Regions from separate parts of the Homo sapiens genome. Here region 2 is linked to region 1. The links are contacts of gene promoters, found by promoter capture Hi-C in human tissues and cell types (Jung and others, 2019). All regions are on one chromosome and are shown on one strand. Each heading gives the region's core, a stretch centred on a gene start or on the middle of the fragment in contact. The rest is flanking DNA. Distances are from core to core; before and after follow the strand shown. Region 1 holds the start of ROBO3 (roundabout guidance receptor 3). Region 2 overlaps PKNOX2 (PBX/knotted 1 homeobox 2).

Region 1 (6,878 bases), core at 2,465-4,964:
AGGCAGTGGTAGTAATGGGGGGTTGTCTTCAGACTGCACTCCTGGGCAATTACATGCCAGCAGCTTCATCCACTACCAGCCGGCATGCAGGCTTTAGACCACCAAGAAGCCTCCCCATATGGCCCCAGCTTGGCCACTGAAAATTCCCAGCCACATTCTCTGGCCGATATGCTGGCACTAGGCCAAGAAAGTTAGCCTGGGGTAGCTGTTCTCTCCCCTAGCACGTGAACACACACACACACACTCACACACCAGTGGGGGGTGGGATGGAGAGTTCCTTTAGAGGCTCATGATTCCCAAAACACCACTCTTGTGTAGGGTTCCTGCCTTACTCATAATCACTTGCCCTTCCCATTTCCCATGTTCCTCTGCAAATCCACCCACCCAAAATACCACCATAGGAAAGAAATATTCCTCTTCTATATTACCTCATCAACTCCTGGCCCAGGGCTCTTTTCTAGGGCTCTACCTGTGAACCCACACATGCACACACACGCAAACACACACACACACACACACTTCTTCCCATCAGATGCTGTAACCTTATCAGAACAAACTTAGCTCCTAACTCTACAAATTCAACTCGCCCCAACCTCCCTGCTTCCTGCTACTCTCTCTTCTTTCTGCCAAATCTCCTTCAAAACCTCTGTTTCTTTTTCTTACCCTTTCTAAAGTCTGGACTGTACATATTGTTGGTAAAACTCTGGGAAAGAAGTAGTTTCCTGAGGTGGTAGAAGAGAGGGTCTCTAAACCCAACTCTGACTCTTTCTCCAGCCCAAGGTGGAAATTTATAAGTCAACAGAATGAATGCACCCCGGCTGAGGCTCCTCCAATTGCAGGGCATCTACTCAGTGTTTTAGGTGCTGTACAGGCACTTACAGTTGACAAATTAGGAAATGGACATAGTTGCAAAGAGTTGCATACCCACTCCAGAAAAAGGACAAAGAGTTGTCTTGGTAATTTTCAGAGAGCAGAGCAGGCAGTGAGGAGACTAGTAGGAGGCAAACCCCTTTCAGAACTGCCTATGGGGGTAGCCAGGAGAGAAGCTGGATGTGGACAGGGGCAGGGCCAGTTTCTAGGCTGCCTGTCTGACCCTCAGTAAAGAAGAGAAGGTGGGGAGAGGGCTGCAGAAGAGCTGGGAGGTGTGACTTCTGCTGGGCCTTCTCTGCCCACTCTCTGCTCCACTCTGCCTAGCCCAGGGCCGTAAGGACACTAGAGAATGGGAAGGAAAAGGGAGGGAACTTAGGTTATGGTTGGGAGGTATTTATTCTCTGATATCCCCAGTTGGGAGAACTCAGCCCTCTTGGCTTAGATCTGAGTTTGGTTTAAAAGGAGAGTATCATCAAGATAAAGAGAAGTACAAAGAAGGAAAGAGCAGAGAGAAACAAGAAAAAGTGGAGAGTGAAAATTAGAGAGAGCCCAGACGAGGTGAAGTGTAGGAGAGACAGCAGATTCCTGGAAAGTAGAGTGGCCCGGCTATTTGTCCAGCCTCCAAACCCACGTGACAGGGACTGTGAAGCAGCCTTGCTCACGGGTTGAGCCGCGCCTCCGCTCAGGGAACCCTGAGCAAATACGCCCTGATCCCCACATAAAGGGCCAATTAACTGCGCCGTCTCCGGGAACAAATCCGCTAACAGGGTGACAAGCCCCTAGACGCTGGCAGGCCCTGTGTTTGCGGAGAGGCCAGCCGGGAGCAAATCAGGGCATTAGGACCGGGCAGGAGCCGCATGGTGGGAGGGTTTCTGGCCCCCTCCGCCCCAGAGTAGGGCCTGGTACCAGGACGTGGGGTTTCTATCCCGATTCAGCCTCTGCTGTGATGGAACCCAGGTGACCGCGGTCAGCAGGGGGCGGAGCAAAGGGCCCCGGAGCCTCGAATCTCACAGGTCAGAGTAGATCAAGCACTCCAATTCCTCCTTAACAGATGGGAAAACTGAGATCCAAAGCGGTGACGTCTTGTACTTGGCAAACGTAGAATTAGAACCCACTTCTGTGTTGGTCATTCCTGAAGGATAGATTTCGGGTGGGAAATACATCCCTTACTTTCTCTCTTATCTGAATACCACCCTGGAGCGAGGAAGGGAGGGGCGTCAAATCTCTTATTATCTTCTTGCTTTTGAAAGGATGTGTCTCTAGCCCGTCTCCCACCTACCCCAGTCCTCAGCCTCAGGGTCTGCTCGGATTTATGTCTTCCCTGGGGGCTCCAGGGCCCTAGTCAGGCACCTGCAGATGAGGTGCTGAAAAGGACAGCTCCCAGGGCGCTGCGTGGCGGTGGGGTGGGGGGTCCATCCGGCCCCACCCCCACTCCCACCTACCCCCTCCCCCACACCTAGTGCTTCCAGCCTTTCTACGTCCCGCCCAGAACTGCTAGGGTTGGAAGGCACCTAAACACCCATAGTTGGAGGCTCACAGCCAGGCGCCTGGACTGAGGAAGGAGGCTTGGAACAAGCCCCCCACCCCTTGACAATGTCTCGGGTTCCCTTGAACAAGCTCTGCCTGAAATATTTCAATTCTTGATTCTGCTTACTCCAGAGTCTGCGACTGTATAGCACCCACCCCTCTGATCTCGACCCCTTTGGGGTCAGAAGCAGTCGCCCCATGAAAGTTGTCTCATCCCAGAACCTGACGGCTGAGCCAGAACTCTGGCACTGACTCTTCAATCAGCAGGGCCTTACCTCAGGTTAGGAATGCCCCGGCCTCTCTCTTTCCCTGATACCCCAAAGCCATCTCCTGTCTAGGAAAGTGAGTTTGTCGAGGTGGGTCTTCAGGTAGAAAGAACTCCAGAAAAGTCAGAAGCAGACCGCGACTGGAAGTGGGAGGTGGGAGTAGGGGCCCATGGTTTTCTTTTCGCCCCCCCCAGGAAGGACGACTGCTATCCGATTTGAACAGATTTGCACTAATTTTGCAGCAATCCCACATGCCTTTACAAAAATAATATTATCTTTGTTTTTGTCCTAGAATCCTTGGTTCCATTTCAGTCTCCTCAAAAACGTAAAACAATTTAATAAAAAATGTCAAAGCAGGGTAATGTAAAAGGATTCAAATAAATGACAGTTGCCTGGGTTTCCCTGGCTTTCAGTCTCCTACAGGAACTCCTAGATTAGGGCGTTTGGAGCAGGACTCCCGGGTCAGGGCGCGCCGCTCCATCCTCTGGCCTCCTGGCTGCAGACCAAAGGACCAGAGGGCAGAGAGGTGGACCTGTCTTGGAATTCTCTGCCTACTCCCAACTCTTGCTGCAAACCACCCCAGTCTCCTGCCCTTCCGTCGCCAAACCCCTAGACTTGGGAGGGAATGGAAACCAGAACTTTGGCAGCAAGGAGCATTGCTTGCGCTTTGCCTCAGTTTCCAAAAGGTTCGGGAAAAGAGAGGACAGATTCCTGTTCTAAAGTTGGGCAGAAGGGCAGAGTCCGACAGAGCCTCGTCCCTCATCTTGGGTGCTTTGAGACAGGGAAAATCTCTCGCCGCGTCCAGAACGGAACGCTGGGCTTGGGGTGCGGGGCGGGGACTCCAACTCGCGCGCTACGCTACTCGTGTCTCCTGCTCGGATAGTGACTGTAGAGGTAAGGGTGGGAGGGTGGAGGGAGGCGGATTAATCCCTTAATTACGCCGTGATCGGCGTGGCACCTGCTTTCCGCCTGCCCAGCTCCCAGGGGACTCCGGCACTAGGGGGTGGAGAGAAGGACGAGGGAAGGAGGAGGGCACGAAGAGGCACCGACCGTACCCAGGCGCACCGGCAGGAGAGCGGCACCGTGGCTGCCGCAGCGCGCAGAGGCTGTGGAGGGGCTTACGGCTCCCAGCCCACGGGTCTCAGACCCAGGGGCTGGGCCCCCAGCCCCCAGTCCCGATCCCAGCTGGGTCGAGCCATGCTGCGCTACCTGCTGAAAACGCTGCTGCAGATGAACTTGTTCGCGGACTCTCTGGCCGGGGACATCTCCAACTCCAGCGAGCTGCTCTTGGGCTTCAACTCCTCGCTGGCGGCGCTCAACCACACCCTGCTGCCTCCCGGCGATCCCTCTCTCAACGGTGAGACCCTGCCTCTTGGGGATATGGGATCCTGGGATGGGGATGAGGTGAGAGGGCGGCGTGGAAGGGAAGGAGAAGCGCTCCTGTCCCGAGGTCCGGGATTGAGTGGCGCCTCCCAGCGCCTCCCTGGGTCGTGGGGTCTAAGGGATAATTTGGAGCTTCGAGCACATGAGTGGGGGTACCCGCGGGAGGTCGAGGGCTTGGGAGAAGATGGCTACTGAGTCTTTTTACACCTCCTTCCCTTCCCCTACAACGCCCACCCCAGGTGAGAAGAACCGTTGCTGGTAACGGGCAGGGAAGTCCGAGCTAAGAAAGGCCCGGGCCCAGCGCAGGGAGGGCAGAGGAGGGGGCACAGTCTCCCGCCGGCCTCGGCCAAGCCAGGTCACTCGGTGACCCACCCAGGCAGCTGGTCTTCGGAACCCCGAAGTTTCCCAAGAACTCACTTAGGACCAGAGGAAGCCAAAATGCTGGATGTGTTTGCTACGGAGGGGATAGGGGCGGCGATCATTTTAAGGAAACTTAGAAGTTTGTCTTTCAGCGGCGGGACTCTCAGCCGGCCCACCCCGGCAGAGCTGTGGCGGGCGGGCGGAGCTGGCGGCGAGGTCGTTACCGCTAATTACGGTGATTAATAAATGACTGGGACAGCGCGCTCTCCCCTAGCGCCGCGGGGAAGCTGCGGGAGCCGGCCGCCGCCAGCCTGCGGAGAGGCCGGAGCGCGCCCCCTGCCTGCCGCATCGGGAACCCCCGCTTTACCGGGCGCTTTCGCGTGTGGTTCCCTCCAGGTGCACGCGGTCCCCATCCCTCTGCCTCGACCCACTCGAGTCTAGTGACGAGCACTGTGCTGGGGACTCGAAGGTGGAGAGAAAGGAGACCCTGGCAATATGTGTGTGTTCATGTGTGGGGCACATCAGGTGCTGAGGGAGGAGCCCCAGAGCCTCATTAGCATGGCCATTAGCTATTCATTAGGCTGCAGTCGAAGCATCTCCTGAGACCGGGAAGGGTAGAGGGGGAAATTCCAGGGAAAGGGCGCCTGCAGCTGTGTCTACAGGAATTAGGGGGAAAAGGCCGACCAGAAGGGTGTGGTCCGTATAGAAGGATTGGGGAGAAAGACGATGGGGGAGGAGCCCGATTCTCCAACCTCTTGACCCTCCTAGATTTCCAGGAGGTTAAGCACAGATCCCTTCTCGCTGGCACCCCGCAGAGTCCCGCTTCTGCTCACCTAGCGCGTTTACAGAGTGTTTTCACCATACTTTGTCTCATCTAAGCTCGAAACTTAGTGAGGTATGCAAGGAAGGTGTTGACAGACACATTTTGCCGCCGAGAAAACGCTTTATAGAGTGAATGGTGCCCTAATCGTCACAAAAGCAGCATGAAGCAAAACCTAGCGATAACAGATCAGTCCATTTCCATTACACCTGAGGGCTATACCAAGGGGAAAAAAGAATATTGGGGCCTGGTAGAATTTGATTCAGGTAGAGACTGTAGGAGCCAAGATAAGGTGCATATGCTGGGAACACAAGCCCTTAAATAATGGCAGAGTAGTGACGTTTATCCCCCAAGGGCTTTACATACATTATGGTCTTAGAGCAACCCTATCACTGCTCTCACATCACAAAGAAAGAAACTGAGACTGAGAGAAGTTAAATAATTTGCCCAAGTTCTTACAGCTAGGAAGCGTCAAAGTCTGAGATTCCAGCCCTGGTTGGTTCAACAGCAACACTTGCTCTCAATCACTCCAGTGTTGCTCACCACGGGGTGTTCCAAAATTGGGAATGGGAGGAGATGGAGGAGAAGAGAAGGGTGAAAAGCAGAGATTTCCATTTGGAAGGGAGGAGATGGAGAAAATTACTCTCCCAAGTGGGACAGAAATCGATCTTCTTGACTCCAGGCAATTAAAATAAACTCAGAACAGCGCCAGCACGGGTCAGCCTGTCCAGCTTTGTCTACAACAGAACTTCTAAGAGGGGGGGCAGGAAATGAAACCCAATCTCACAGGCGGGCTGGAAGCGGGAGGTTCCTGCAGATTTTGGAACAGGGTAGGAAGGGGGGAACAGGGGGAGGGGGCAGGGGGCAGAACAGATGCTTGAAGTGGTCCCTGGTTATTTTACAGCAGGTTATTAAAGGCTGCAGTGGCACCTACTGGCCGCCACGGGTTACAAATCCACTTTTGTTGGCTGGACTAGGGGCTGAGAGTGCCGGAGTATAACAGGCTCCGGGATCCTAACCGTGCTGCAGAAGGTGAAACAGGCCAAAGTCTGCAGGCCAAGTGACAGGTAGGACAGAATATGTGGATGAACTGATCGGAGTGAACAGGGGAAGTAGAGGAACATCAATCAGTAGAATAATCTATTGGAAACTATGCACCTGTCAGGAAAAGGAGCCTTACTAACATTTCTACTGCTATTTGCGTTCAATTCCTGTGACTTCACAGGACCCTTGAAATGAAGCGTGATTATCCGGGGTGTCAGTAAGAAGGGCCCTGTGCCGATTCATAGAATCCAGGTTGACAAGCCCTTCTAGGCCCGGCCCTGTCACTCCCGTCTTGCCTTTCATAAGGGATCCCAAGCCAGTCCACATTCCCAATTTCACTGAGCCAGGACCTTGCAGAAGTCAAGAACAAACTGTTGGCTCCAGTGCACGGTTTATGGTCTTTCACTGAGCAAGGACGATCCGTGAACCAGTGCAGGTGGAGATGGAAACCACTGGGCAGGAGGCGAGGGAGCGGTCTACTCGCCAAGCGTGGTTCAGCCACTCCCGCTTAAACTTGGCAGGAGAGGAGACGGAGGTCTCTAGGTGGTCCAGAAAGCCGGCCTAGAAGTTTGTGTCCCGATCCCTCTACTAACCGGCCTGTCTGTAGG
Region 2 (6,878 bases), core at 2,388-4,887, 530 kb after region 1:
GGCATATAGTAAGACTCAATACTTGTTGAATGAATAAAATTAAATTAAAAAGAAGTTGTGTTGATAGAGGTCCTAGAAGTTCCTCGATGTTCTTGGTGCCTACAGAAGGCACTTTACATTAAGGCGGGAGAGATTTTGATTGAATATAAGGAAAAGCTTCTAATCAGCAGACTGAGAGAATATGGAGAAGGTCCGAGGCAACAAGGTCATCGCCCAGTGACCGGGAGAGGCTGGAGGAGAAGATGCAGCCTGTGTCCTGATGAGTTTGGACTGTGCAGCCACCTAGAGGCTGGTCCAGGTCACCGTGTGGGGTTCATTCTAACACCATCAGGCGTGAATTGAGGGCAGAAGTCCTGGTAATGTTCAGAGAGTCAGAAAACGTAAGGGACCTGACAGTCCAGCCCTCTCCGTGTGCACATGGAGAAGCAGGCACCTGTGTTGGTGAGGTGTTTGGACCCCGGGGGGCTGTGCCAGGAGTGAGAGATGGGAGATCAGAGCAGCTGAGAAAAGGCACATTACCAGGAAGGGTTCTGGAAATCCTAAACTTTGATGTCTCAAAAGCTACTTGGCTTCCTAGAACCCCGTACTTGCTGTCACTGAGCCACTTTCTCCCAAACCACGCACCCTTTATACTACCACTTCCTCTACCTACATAATCCTGAGAGTCCATATTGAAAGACAAGGCACACGGGTGGGGGGTGGGGCAACCTGGCTTCATATCGCTCACCAGTTGTGTGACTCTAAGCAAGGAAACGTAATATTTTTGGATTTTATTTTCTTCAAATGCAAAATATGAGCAATAATGGTACCTACTTAATGAGATGGTTGTGTGGAATAAATAAGGCCTGGAATGGGCTTAACACAGTGCCTGAGACACAGTCTGAATAAGAAACGTTTGGGTATTATTAACAATCCAGCAACGCATATGTGTTAAGTACCTTATCCTGTGCTCATTACACTGAGAGACATAGACCAAGATGTTCGTGGCCAAAGTCAAGTAGAACATTAGGCAAGAACAAATCTTTATTAAGTACTTAACTCCACTTTGGGGTCCAAATGATCCATTCTAAAGTCACAATTTTCCTCTTTGCTTAGGATGGCTCAGTCTCCCTCAGTCTCAGCCCCACAGAGGTGGTACTTCTTAGGAGGAGACCTTGTGACTGAGCCCTGCATGACGACACACAATCGCTGCTTTCTGTCTTTGAGTGACACTTGGTCTAATTTAGTACTCCAAAAACCCTTAATTAGTTGAGCACAATCCCTGCTCATCAGACAAGCCACAAGCCCAGCCCAGGGAATGTGGGCTCCCCACTTGAAATGCCAATGAGGCTCAGAGAAGGGTGTAATGCTGGCTTCAAGCCACACTTCTCTACACACACCTCACAGTCACAATTCTCTGGGAGAGATTTCCTTCCTTGTTTCCATCCCTTTTTATATTGTCCAAACTCTCCTCTAGGCATCCAGGAGCTAGCCAAAAGCTAGGAGGGTGGGACTAAAAAGAGATCCCATATATTGCTTGCGTCAACATAAATGGATCTGGAAAAGCAATAAGCATCACCCGCTCCTAGCGGTTACATTTAATTTTGATATAAATGTAGATTCACATGCAGTTATAAGAACTCATACAGAGAGCTCCTGATTCACATCTTGTATAACCATAGCACAATTTCACAGCCAGGAACAATCCACCAACTGTATTCAGATTTCACCAGTTTTACGTGCCCTCGTGTGTGTGTGTGTGTGTGTGTGTACATGTAATTAGTTCTGTGCAATTTTATCATATACTTAGATCCACATAAACATTGTTATAGCAAAGTACAGAACAGTTCCTCCCTCCCTCCTCCACTCTACCGCTGTCAACCACTAATCTGTCTTTCTGTCTTCCATCTCTATAATTTTGTCATTTCAAAAACGTTTTGTAAATGGCATCATATAGTATATAATCCTTTGAGACTGGCTTTTGTCTCTCAGGAAAATTCCCTTGCAATCTATCCACATTGTTGGGCATATCAATAGCTCATTCTTTTTTATTGCTGAGTTATATTCCATGATATGGATGAATTACAGTTTCTTTATCCATTCACCCATTGAAGTACATTTGGGTTGTTTCCGATTTTTGACTATTAGAAGTAAAGCTGCTTTGAACAATTTGTATACAGGTTTTTGTAAGAACATATGTTTTTATTTCTCTGGGATAAATGCCCAAGAGTACAATTGCTGGGTCATATGGTACGCACATATTTAGTTTTGTAAGAAATTGTCATACTGTTTTCCAGAGTGGCTGTACCATTTTACACTCTTAACAGCAATGTCTGAGTGTTCTAGTCTCCAGTTCCTCACCAGCATTTGGTGTTGTCATATTTATTTCTTTTATTTTAACCATACCAATAGGTGTGTAGTGATATCTCATTGTGGTTTTAATTTGCATTTCCCTAGTGACTAATGACATTGAATATCTTCTCTTGTGCTTATTTGCCATCTGTATATCCTCTTCAGTGAAATGTCTAATCATGTCTTATGACCATGTTCTAATTGGGTTGCTTGTTATTTTACTGTTTTGTTTTGAGAGTTCTTTATATATCCTAGATACAAGTCCTTTGTCAGGTACTTGGTTTGCAAATATTCTCCTCCAGTATGTAGTCTTTTCCTCTTCTTCACAGGGTCTTTTGAAGAGTAAACATTTTTAATTTTGACAGCGTCCAGTTCCTCACTGGATCATCTTTTTTTTTTTTTTTTTTTAGATGGAGTTGCGCTCTGTCGCCCAAGCTGGAGTGCAGTGGCTCCATCTCGGCTCACTGTAACGTCCACCTCCTGGGTTCAAGCGATTCTCCTGCCTCAGCCTCCCAAGTAGCTGGGACTTCAGGCATGCACAACCACCACTGGCTAATTTTTGTAATTTTAGTAGATATGGGGTTTCACCATGTTGGCCAGGCTGGTCTCAAACTCCTGACCTCAAGTGATCCTCCTGCCTCGATGTCCCAAAGTGCTGGGATTACAGGCGTGAGCCACTGTGCCCAGCCTGGATCATGCTTTTGGTGTCAACTCTAAGATCTCTTTGCCTCACCCTAGATCCTGAAGATTTTTTCCTGTTTTTTTTTAAGAGGTTTATAGTTTTCTGTCTTACATTTATGTCTTTGATCCATTTTGAGTTAATCTCATCTAAGGTATGAGGTTTAAATCAAGATTCAGTTTTTTTGCATGTGGATGTCTAATTATTCTAGCACCATTTGAACAACCCCCTGTTGAAAAGCAATTTGGCAATATTTATCATAATCCACAAGAACGTTCATAGCTTTTTTTCCTGTCACTTCTGGGAATTCATCCTAAAGAATAATGCAGAAACTTTTAAAAAAAAAAAAAAAAAGCTATAAGCTTAGAAAATATTCACTGTAACATTTTTTATAAAATTGAAAAATTGGAAGTAATCTAAATACCTAACAATAGGAGACTGGTTAAGTATGGCACACACATGAAATAATATGCAACATTTAAAAATATGTTTACTCAATAACTTTCACCCATTCAGCAAATGTTTACTCCATATCCATATGTGTTCGTGCTGAAGATAACATGGTGAGCAAATTAGACATCATCCCTGCCTTCTCAAAGCTCATAGTCTAGAAGAGAGGATAGAGAAAACAATTCTGGCACTTAGAAAAATAGATTTGCTAAACTAGAGGGAAAAAACAGAAAACAAAATTGCATGCACAAGGTTATTGAAACTATGTTAAAATATATGGGTGTAGGAAAAAATCATTCTTTAAGGCGATTGGATCGAAGACAGGTTTTTTTCACCCTGCTTTCCATACCTTCCATAGTATTTTCTTTTTATGATAATAACAGCAGTAAAGAGCAAAGCTTCAATTGCAAAATAGCTTCTTGCCACGAAAAGGTTAGGAATGTCCATTTGAAGAGGCAGCAGGCTCCCGTACAGCAATCCAAAGGGCATGGAAAAGGCCACAGCAGACAGTGAGGTAGCTGGTGCCCAGCTAAGTCATGCTGGATTATTCAGTCCATCAGCAAGTATCCACAGAGCGTCCACAAGGTAACCGGTATCCCATGAGGCACTCAGAATGCTTGTTTAAGAATAGACAGTCCCTGAGCTCTAGAGGCACTTATAAGAAATTCTGATCTCCATCTTCCTCAGGCTTGCCTGGTCCTTCACACCTCACAATGTGCTACCATGTATACGCCCTCATACAATACTCACAACAAACCTGTAAAGTTGTCAGGGAGAATCTAATTATCCCCATTTGTTAGCCACTAAGGCACAGAGAGCTTGAGCAACTTGCCCAAGCTCACACAGATAGTAAATGACAGGCCGGGGGCTTGGACCTGGCCTCCCATCGCTAAGGCCAATGCTGTTCTCAGAATACCACAACTGCCTCAAGAACAGCTGTGATAACAGAGGGCTCAGAGCAAAGGAATAATTAGCAGAGAGCCATCATTAGAACTGAAGTCATGGGGATGAGAAGGCACCGCCTACCACTTCTGGGCCTTTTGGCCAAGATCAAGTGTAGGAAGCATGAGCTACGGCAGGGGGTGGGCTCCCCTCCCCTGGGGTGGTGGGGGCTGGGGGTCCAGGCAGTGAGGGAAATGGGATGCAAACACCTGGGCTCACCTCTCCTCCCTCTCCACAGATGGTGAAGGCAATCCAGGTCCTGAGAATCCACCTGCTGGAGCTGGAGAAAGTCAATGAACTCTGCAAGGACTTTTGTAACCGTTACATCACCTGCCTCAAAACCAAGATGCACAGCGACAACCTGCTCAGGAATGATCTAGGGGGGCCCTACTCCCCCAACCAGCCCTCCATCAACCTTCACTCACAGGTAACACCCAGAGCTGGGTCCCATCTCTTAAGCCAGGCTCCTAAGCCCAGCTCTGGAGCCACGCGTGGAGGAAGGTCCCCTGGTGACCTTCACTGGGTTAGACCCACTGGGTTCCTTTGCCATGAGGGCCCTCCTCTGATGCACTCTTCTTCATATCCATTAGGCCATCCCATCCCTTTTTTACACACAGTCTGCCCTGCCAGGGCATTAGTATTCCCTTGAAAATGACCAGATCGGAGAGGGACAATGTCCAAAATCATTCCTGGCTTCCTGGCCCAAGGTATCCCCCAGAATGAGCACCAGAGCTAAGGAGAAGGAAAGCTCTCCTGGAGGATGAGCTGGGACAGGCTTCTTAAGAGGCTGCGGCTTGCTGAGCCATCTGCATTTCTGGGAAAGGGCATTTGGGGAAAGCAGTCATTCCCTGAATCCTGCCCACCTAATGGGTGAAGCCAGCTTCCCATGGGCCTGCTGCTCCCTAATCATTCTCCAGGCACTCACGCTACTCTGGCATCTCTGTCCCCCTAAGGTTCAGGGCCATGGTCAAGGTCACCTCAAACCACCCTGTTCCCAGGTTCCCCTGCCACCTCCTTCCTGAGACCTGGGAAATGCAGAAATGCTGACTACACGCTTTGGGCAAGATGGGGTTTCCCCTCCAGGGCAGGATATTTTCCCCAAACCTACAAACCGAGAAAGCTGCCTGGCAATACCTTCCCGCCCAACTCACAGACATCTGCATAAGCCACAGGCTTGAGACTTTGTTCCCCTTCCACTGAGCTCCTGAGTCCTGGAAGACACCTGGAGGGTCCCCAAGGAGTCCTCTGTAGCCTCTTCTCATTAAACAATCAGGCATGGGGATGCAGGTAAACTTTCTAGGAGTGAGTGCCGAGAGGTGCTGGAAGTAGTGCCAAAGAAAGGCTGTGCCGTTTTTGTCCCTAGACCCCTAAGGAACCACCCATGTACTCTATCTCCCCAGATTGGTGGAGTCAGGGGAGGGGACAGGCTGACTTCTAGAAGGCCAGCCTTGCTTTGCACATTTTGACAACAAGCACAAAAGATACACTCGGTATCACATCCAACCCACCCCAGTGGGCTCTTTGTGAGACTCCGTAGTGAGTACTGCCCAGGACATAGGGCAAGAAGTTTACTTCCTCTTCCTCTCGCTTGAAATCACCAAGTCACTTTATTACAGATCTAAAAACACCCGCCCGGGCTTCTGCCTGCTAATATTCTCTTGAAATAGACTCATTCCTTCAGAGTCTTATTGTACTTTCCCTTATGATCAAAATTAGCAAGAAACTTGCATAAAAGAGGACAATAATTGCTCAACGAGCATCTCGTTTGTAATTTATTAGTTTCTATTATTGTGGGTTACCATGGTGACGCTGCGCAGTCCCGGTGATGGGAGAGATGCAAGATAGGAGCTGAGGAGGCTGTGAGGCCTCGCCAAATGGAGATGCACATTTTTATCAGTAATTTTCATGAAAATAATAAGTGAGGAGTTAATGAGATGGAAAGCCATCCTGTGGCTATTGTGAATTTTTTTTAAGTGTTGATCTAATTAGAATGCATCGGTCAGGAAAAGTAATGAGGATTTAGTGCCTCACAGAGATGTGAGGATCATATCAGAAAATTAGCACAAGTCTTTGGAAATAATCAGGTCCTTGGAGAGGCACTGGATTTCCCCTCCTGGGCCCTCCAACTCCACCTCGAGCTCTGGAGCTGGGGGTGCACCAGGGTAGTGGGGGAAGGAAGGAGGGGCAGAGGGCTTAGCAGCCACCTCAGCCCCCTCAGGGTTGGAGGTCTGAGACTGACAAGTTGGTCTGCAGAAACCAGTCGGTCACTGGAGAAGTGGGGTTTGCAGAAAAGGATAACGCGGACTCTGGATGGTTAAGTTCTCAGAGATGCTGCCACCTGCAAAAATCAGTCCCCCTGGAGAATCCCGGCACTCAGCCTTCTGAGCTTTGAGGAAAGACAGAAGAATTTTGATTCCTATCACTGGAAGCATCAGATCTCTGCCTGGAAGTGAGGCTGGCCCTGGGGTACCCACGG

The links. The method cuts DNA at HindIII sites, captures the fragments that hold promoters and counts their contacts. A contact is called where the count stands out against the background at its distance.
Region 2: a fragment that was not itself captured here is called in contact with the fragment with the promoter of ROBO3 in region 1 in 1 of the 25 tissues and cell types used here (IMR-90 fibroblasts).

What each region holds. Positions count from the first base shown.
Region 1 is chr11:124,861,718-124,868,595 of GRCh38, forward strand. ROBO3 (roundabout guidance receptor 3) reads left to right here and starts at 3,715. Exons shown (of 28, transcript NM_022370.4): 1 at 3,715-4,020. The coding sequence starts at 3,861. RefSeq lists enhancers at 1,190-1,691, 4,031-4,707, 6,757-6,878. The HindIII fragment of the contact is 19,013 bases long and covers 1-6,878 here.
Region 2 is chr11:125,393,234-125,400,111 of GRCh38, forward strand. PKNOX2 (PBX/knotted 1 homeobox 2) reads left to right here. Exons shown (of 13, transcript NM_001382323.2): 7 at 4,641-4,829. Among named protein-coding and RNA genes, the nearest start is that of FEZ1, 100 kb to the right of the region's middle. The HindIII fragment of the contact is 3,747 bases long and covers 1,765-5,511 here.